Linked DNA regions of Homo sapiens: region 1 is linked to region 2. The links are contacts of gene promoters, found by promoter capture Hi-C in blood cells and fetal thymus (Javierre and others, 2016). All regions are on one chromosome and are shown on one strand. Each heading gives the region's core, a stretch centred on a gene start or on the middle of the fragment in contact. The rest is flanking DNA. Distances are from core to core; before and after follow the strand shown.

Region 1 (3,907 bases), core at 1,214-3,713, 130 kb before region 2:
TCGGGAGGCTGAAGCAGGAGAAACGCTTGAACCCAGGAGGAGGAGGTTGCAGTGAGCTGAGATCACGCCATTGCACTCCAGTCTGGGTGACAGAGCAAGACTCTATCTCAAAAAAAACAAATAAAAAACACCCAAGTTTTTTGTTTTTTTTTTTTTTTTTTGAGACTGAGTCTCACTCTGTCACCCAGGCTGGAGTGCAGTGGCACAATCTTGGCTCACTGCAAGCTCCGCCTCCCAGGTTCATGCCATTCTCCTGCCTTAGCCTCCCGAGTAGCTGGGACTACAGTCACCTGCCACCACGCCCGGCTAATTTTTTTGTATTTTTAGTAGAGACGGGGTTTCACCGTGTTAGCCAGGATGGTCTTGATCTCCTGACCTCGTGATCCGCCCGCCTTGGCCTCCCAAAGTGCTGGGATTACAGGCGTGAGCCACCATGCCCGGCCACCCCCAACTTTTTGAATGAAGAAAGGAAGGAATGTGCACACAGTGGATCCTGACCTGCATCCCTGTTGAATCTCTACTCTCTGTAATGAGTCCCCAAGCTTAGCCCCATGGCCCTGGCCTCCAAAGGGGGAAGAAGGAGCCCCAGCCTAGGCTCAAATTTGTGCCCATAATAATAATATTGACATTTGTTGAGTATATTTTATGTGCTTGACATTATGCCATGCACTTCAAAGCATTGTTAGATCATTTATTCCTTTCAAAAGCCTATGTGTCGGGCTGGGCATGGTGGCTCATGCCTGTAATCCCAGCACTTTGGGAGGCGGGCGCCCAAGGTGGGCAGATCACCTGAGGTCAGGAGTTCGAGACCAGCCTGGCCAACATGGTGAAACTCCATCTCTACTAAAAATACAAAAATTAGCCAGGTGTGGTGGCGCATGCCTGTAATCCCAGCTACTCGGGAGGCTGGGGCAGGAGAATCGCTTGAACCCGGGAGGCGGAGGTTGCAGTGAGCTGAGATTGTGCCACTGCACTCCAGCCTAGGAGACAGAGCAAGGCTCAGTCTCAAAAAATAAAAAAAAAAAGCCTATGTGTTACATGAGGTTACTACTACTATCTCCATTTTACAGACATGTAAACTGAGGGCCAGTGTGGGGAAGCAATTTGCTTAAAGTCCCAGCTAGGAAAAAAGTTTGAACTGGAACCTGGTGTTGGAGTCTCTGCCTGAGGCTCCCTGGGAGGCCGGTGGTGCCCCCGCTGTGACCCACCTCTCAGGCCATCCTTTCTCATGTCCGTCCAGCTGTCAGTCAGTCCTCCCACCATACTTCAGTCCAGCATATCTGTTGAGCTCTTGCTCTGTGTCAGGGGTTACCAAAAGGAATACAGATGTTCCATTCTCAAGTTGCTTATAGTCTATAGGAGGAGACAGGTGTTTACACCACACAAAGGTTCAGCCAGAAGGCTGCAGAGCTCAGAGGAGGGAGCAAATTCTTCCAACTGAGTCAAGGGAGAATCTGAAGGAGGCAACATTTGAGTTGGGCCTTGAAGGTTGGTGGAGTTTTAACAGTCAGAGGCATCAGCAGAACAGGTGAATGGAACCACAGGAGGAAAGATGTAGGGGCCAGGAATAGTAGGGTGTGTTTGAGGGGTGGCAACAGAACCTTGAAATGCTAGTCACTCTCTGGTGGTCCCAGCAGATGGGGAACAGGAGGGCCTGGGGTCTTCCTGCTCTCCCAACCCTGCAGCCAGACATGGAAACCTTACATCCATTCAAATGTATTCATCCAACCATGCATTTTGTTAGTGAACATAGAACTCAGTACTGTGTGACAAGTACTGTTTGGGTGTGTTGGGAAGAGAAAGTGGGAGGAGTGGGGAGACATACAAAAAGCAGAAACAATGCAGCAGGCTATGACCACAGCCTGGGGAGGGCTGCTCTAGATGGGGTCAGGGAAGGCCTCCTGAGGAGGGTGTTCCAACACTCTGGGAGGTCAAGGTGGGTGGATCGCTTGAGTTCAGGAGTTCAAGACCAGCCTGGGCAACATGGCAAGACCCTGTCTCCTCACTAAAAAAATTAGCCAGGTGTGGTGGTGTGTGCCTGTGGCCCCACCTACTTGGGAGGCTGAGGCAGGAGGATCACTTGAGCCCAGGAGGTTGAGGCTGCAGTGAGCCATATGGTGCCACTGCACTCCAGCCTGGGCAACAGAGCAAGACTCCTATCTCAAAAATAAATTCTCTATAGTCAGCCAAGCACAGCTCTGGGTAAAGAGCCATCCAGGCAGAACAAGCAGTAAGTGCAAAGGCCTGCAGATGGGGAGAGCTTAGCAAATTGAAGGGATTAAGCAAGGCCAGTGTGGCTTTGGGGGCTCGAGTGAGGCCTTAAGAGGCCTCACTAGATTGCTTAAGTCAAGTTTAGAGAAGAGGGTTGAGGTCAGCCAATGTCAGCCCTACAAGGCTACAGGGAGGAGTAGGGATTTTGTGCTGTGAGCATTAAGGGGTGAATAACTTACGACTCAGGGGTTGTTCAGCTAGTAAGTTACAGTCACAACACAAACACCTCCCAGGACCCAAAGGCATCTGTAAAAACAGTCTCCTAGTGGCTCAACATTGGCCAGGACAGAATTCAGCTGAAGTCAATATTGCATTTATTGTAAGGCCAGAAGGCAGAATTTCTTAATCTGAATCACTGGCCCTTTTAGAATGCATAAACATTACATGTGTTTGAATTTTAAAATCTGTGTAATTAAGGCTGGGAGTGGTGGCTCACACCTGTAACTCTTGCACTTTGGGAGGCCAGTGCAGGAGGGTGGCTCGAGTTCAGGAGTTCAAGACAAACTTGGGCAACGTAGAGAGACTTGTCTCCACTAAAGATCAAAAAAGTTGGCTGGGCGCAATGGCTCATGCCTGCAATCCCAGCACTTTGGGAGGCCGAGGCAGGTGGATCACCTGGAGTCAGGAGTTCGAGACCAGCCTGGCCAAGATGGCGAAACCCCATCTCTACTAAAAATACAAAATTAGCTGGGCGTGGTGGCACATGCCTGTAATCCCAGCTACTCGGGAGGCTGAGGCAGGAGATTCTCTTGAACCCAGGAGGCAGAGACTGCAATGAGCCAAGATCACGCCACTGCACTCCAGCCTGGGCAGCAGAGTGAGACTCTGTCTCAAAAAAAAAAAAAAGGGGGGGTCAAAAAAATTAGCTGGGCATGGTGGCGCGTGCCTGTGGTCCCTGTTACTTAGGAGAACCAAGGTGGGAGAATCACTTGAGCCAGGGAGGTCAAGGCTGAAGTGAGCAGTGATCATGCCACTGCACTCCAGCATGGGTGACAGAACAAGGCCTTGTCAAAAAAAAAATCTGTGTAGTTAAAATACTCTTAGTGCAAGCTGTTCCTGAACCTCAAAGGCAGGGACTTGGATGATTCACTTCGGGCATGAAAACTATACAAGGAATTTGGACCTCTGTTCTGGGCCCCACCTCTACCTTTTGAGATTTCTTGGCCCTCAGCTGAGATAGCAGAGTCCAGTGAACAAAACATGGATTTTGGAGCCAAACAGGTGTGGGTTCAAATCCATTCAGCAGCGTGTACTGCCGTGTGACCTGACCGAGCCTCTTCAAACCCTGCCATCTCTAAGGGGTGTTGTGAAGATGAGCTGAGATAGCACACATATACGTAGAGTACCTGGCACCTGGGGCTTGATAAACACTTGCTCCCTTCGCCCTCTGCCTCTTATCTGAATTCCTGGGCCCCTGGAAAACACAGACTGGTCTGGAGCCCTGTGTGGATACCTCACTTCTTCTCCATTGCTCTGTTCAAATGGGCTCTTGTGCTTAGGAGGGCCTCAGATGTTCCCACCTATAGAACAGGAAGGAATGTCTGGTCACCCACCAGATTGGTGAGCTGTGTCCCTAGGAATACCTGCAGCTGTGTGGAGGTAGTTTTTCTAGCCTCTGGGATGCCTGGAAATAGGA
Region 2 (3,814 bases), core at 725-3,224:
TTCCGAACTTAAATCTTCCCTCCCCATTTCCTTTACCACTGTTTCACTTACACAGTACCAGCACCAACTCGGCAGCAAAGAGACGGATGGAAGCCTCAGGAAAGCAGCCAACAGCCGACCAAAGGGAGTACAGATCTGTGCTGCAGTAGCTACACACTGCAAAGCCAGTGTGGAGCTACATACATTGCCAGAAGTCTAGGCAATGTTTGGGAGCTGCAATGCCTGGGCTCAAGGCATTGTAGGCCTCCTGCCCAAACTGATACCACCTGCTGTTCCCCTCCCTTTGGGACAGAGAGGTGCCATGAGAAGGGGGACAGAGCAAAGGCAGAACAAGCCAAAGAGGTAATCTCAGGTGGGGAACATGGTACAAAGACCCTGGGGGATGAGGAGAGAGTCCAGTCACTCACTAATGAAAAGGTGCCGTTTTCCCTGCCAGCTGTCCCCCAAGCTGTGTACAAAGGGATGGTTGATCTGTCGCTAGGAACAAAGAAAACAGGAAGTTAGGGAGGAACAGGGTCATTGAGAATAAAGGCAGCTGAGAAATCAGGTTTTACCCAGATGTGCAGAGGGGGAACTGCTGCCTCACCTCTCAGTTCAGAGGAACTCAATATTTGGAACTGACTATCTGGTAATCCTAGAACCAGCAAATACTAAGGAATACACTGGGACATGCTTCAGAGATTTCCCTAGTAGGACATGGGAAAACTGTGTTGAGAGCTGATACTTTTCCCAGGATCTACTTTAGTGTTAAACTAGGCTGAAGCAGATGGATGAGGCAGAACCAGGAAAAGAAGGTGGGCAAGAAAGGTACTTTCCCTACCTGTGGCCTAGCTCTTCCCACAATCCTTTCCAGGACTCTGTGCATACCTGGATGCTAACCTCCTCTTTGCACTGCCTCACGGTATCCCTCTGTAGGACCTTTACCTTGGGCACCACCTATAAAAGGAGAGTAGTGATGACTCATAGATAGTGCTATTGAATTGTTTATTCCTCCCAACCTCTCTGGAATCAAGATTGGAAACAGAGACTAATGTGGTATCTACGCCCCTACCTTCACTGCAAATACAGCTTTCTGGGTGCAATCTAGCACCTTGAGGACAGTTCCAAAGGAGCCTTTAGCCACGAGGCCTAAAATCTGTACAGAGGAATGGAGAACAGGCCAGTTGAGACTGGTCATTTTTAACTTCTCCCAAAGACTGAGACCCCACTCAGGGATTCCACTGACTTACCTTCAGCTGCTGCTGCCCCCTAATGGGCCTAATGGGAAACTCTGGTAGAAAGAGGTTGATGAACTGAGGCACTGGCCACTCTGGCAGAGGCTTCTCTACCAGTACTGGGGCTGGCTTTAGGGATTCCTGGTGCAGATAGTGGTGCCCCCGTAGTTCCCAGAGTTCTTCCAGATCTGACCTGATGGTTCCCAAACCTGTCCAGAGGCTCTTCCAGCCTCGGGCCCAGGGACCCCGGATGTTGCCACCCTGCTGAGAACCAAGGGAGCCACTCTAAACTTTCTGCTCCTGAGGCATAGCAGGTTCCACCCATCTTACTAGGCACTCCCTCCCCTTAAGTCTCAACCCCTAGAGGTACATTTTTGAGCATGAGGCAAAATTCCCATTACCCTTGCTTTGTGCTAAGCCCCAGATTTCCTGGGCACAATTCAAATCCTCTAGGAAAATAATTGTTGGACATTTTCACCATGACGCATTAAGAGTACAGCCTGCACCTCAGTATTGGGCTGTGATGCTTTCATAGTACAGCCTCCCTGCCCCACCCCCACATTGGGTAATCACTTCCATGCTCCTAACCAGGAACTTCCCAGGACTCAAGCCCATGTCTCCCTCTCCTCCCCTCAGTAGGCTGCCAGAGCCCCACAGCCTACCTTGTGAGGGACAGCCACCCGGGTGTGTTCCCCCTGCTGGGTGTGCTGCCCCTGCCGACAGCTTACTGCTCCCATTCCCAGCCTCTGCCTCCTCTCTCTGCTAAATCTGCTGTCCCAGTTATATAAGCAATTCCTCTCCCTGATGCTGCGTGACACGAGCCCCGCCTCTTCCAGTCTGCAGAAACCCATCAGCATGGGGCCAGAGTCACACTAGGACTAGAAATTTCTGTGATACAGCTTCAGGGCAGAGGAAGGAAGGGGCCACCCTCAGAGTGGCAGCTGCAGGATGTTCTGGGTTGATGAGGGAGGAATACACAGATTGAATGCATGCACTCAACACACACACACAAAAATGAGCATCAAATTTAAAATATCTTTTTTTTTCTCTTTAAATCATTTTGCCATTCTCCAGGGTATATCCTACGGGGAAGGGTAGGGGACCCATGGCCAGCCCTGGCTCCTACTGCCATCCTCCCAAGTGAACTTAGCACAGAGACTGGGGAGGGGTTGACCCCCACTCCAGAACACCAATACCTCTTTCAAACATGACAGTGGAGTGAGGATCAGAGGATCAGCCCCCTCCCGTTTCCTGGCACAGAGGAAGGACAGTTACACTTAGAAATATATATATAATATATATATATTTATATATGTCTATAAAAATTTATCACACTTGATCAGGACTATCCCCCTACCCTTTCACTTGACCCCAAGGGAATAGGGTCCTGCCCTGGGCCCATTCCCTGGGTCTTGCTCTCTTGTTGCCTCTCTGGCCCTGAGCCTGATCAGTGTGAGACAGAACTCAGCATTACTGTCCACCATGCCCTGCAGCGAACAGACCAGGTGCTGAAGAGTGATGCCTATGGGCTCTGACACCCACAAATCCTCGTGGATAACGGGAAGCCCCTCCCACCCCACAAGTCCCTGGAGCCTGAGCCAGAGTCAGATCCTGTACTGCAGCCACTCGAATCGCCAAATCATTTGCGCCTGCCAAAGATGGACTTCTTGCCAGGGTTCTTGTCGCCCACACTTAAACCAATGAGGAGCCGGGCTTTCTCCTCCTCTTCCTGCTGTTGCATGTTCAGGTCCGATTTAGTTTCTAGCTTTCCCCGGACCTCAGAGCCTGTTGCAGACTTCAGCCTTAGCTTCTCTTTGATTACCTGGCAGATTGGAGAGGAGTAAAAGAAAATGTAAATATTAGTGGGCAGGCAGAATAAATCAAAATGAACCAAGACAATAAAGATTTATTAAACACATCCAAGGCACAATGGGGCAATTCACATACAATGGTCTCTGCTTTCAAGAAGCTTACAGTCTAATTATAACCCCTTCTAAACTTTAGGTTGTGTTAGCTCTCAGTTCCCTAAAATCAATGGTGCTATACGAAACACTCAGTAAACACTGAATTTAATAATCTGAGTGAGGTCATGGAGAGGGTAGGCATAGAAGCCACTCACTTCATGCACCTGCCCCTTCCCAAGGATATTTATTCATGGATTCTAAAATGAAAGGCTCCTGAAAAGAGGATCTGCCTGCCAGCCCCATTAGCCAAACAGCCATGAGCCCTGGCGGGATACCTGGGCAACCAGGGCTTTGCGGCTGTCCCTTTTGACAGCCATGGCAAAGTCTAGCCATGTCCATGTGTTGTTGTGGTACTCCAGACAGGGCAGCACCAGGTTAAGGTCACCCCAGTCCACACTGTTCTTCTCACCCTGTAAGAGGAGGGGGAGGGGAAAGAAAAAAAGAGGGGTGGGGAATACATCAGCTGCCATTTTGAGTCCCAGCCAGCCACTTGAGTGCCAAGTCCTACAATAGTAACCTACAGATACTGATTTCCCCTTACCTCAGCCTCGTAATGATGCTGACTCTTGAGGGGAGCAGAGGGAACAGCAGATTTATCACCCACAGCTCAGCATCACAAACAACCTAGCTGTCTCC

The links. The method cuts DNA at HindIII sites, captures the fragments that hold promoters and counts their contacts. A CHiCAGO score of 5 or more calls a contact.
Region 1: a contact is called between a fragment that was not itself captured here and the fragment with the promoter of RSKR in region 2, in 3 of 17 cell types (total B cells, naive B cells and naive CD4 T cells). The highest score is 6.3, in total B cells.

The regions. Positions count from the first base shown.
Region 1 is chr17:28,477,051-28,480,957 of GRCh38, forward strand. The region is part of intron 1 of SLC13A2 (solute carrier family 13 member 2); the gene reads left to right. Among named protein-coding and RNA genes, the nearest start is that of SLC13A2, 5.4 kb to the left of the region's middle. The HindIII fragment of the contact is 3,847 bases long and covers 541-3,907 here.
Region 2 is chr17:28,612,211-28,616,024 of GRCh38, forward strand. It overlaps RSKR (ribosomal protein S6 kinase related), which reads right to left and starts at 1,975. Exons shown (of 12, transcript NM_001174103.2): 1 at 1,877-1,975; 2 at 1,230-1,478; 3 at 1,052-1,135; 4 at 868-936; 5 at 408-477; 6 at 52-156. The coding sequence starts at 1,951. It overlaps BLTP2 (bridge-like lipid transfer protein family member 2), which reads right to left. Exons shown (of 39, transcript NM_014680.5): 38 at 3,454-3,588; 39 at 2,236-3,036. The coding sequence ends at 2,854. All of the region lies in intron 2 of SPAG5-AS1 (SPAG5 antisense RNA 1), which reads left to right. RefSeq lists an enhancer at 1-339. The HindIII fragment of the contact is 13,614 bases long and covers 1-3,181 here.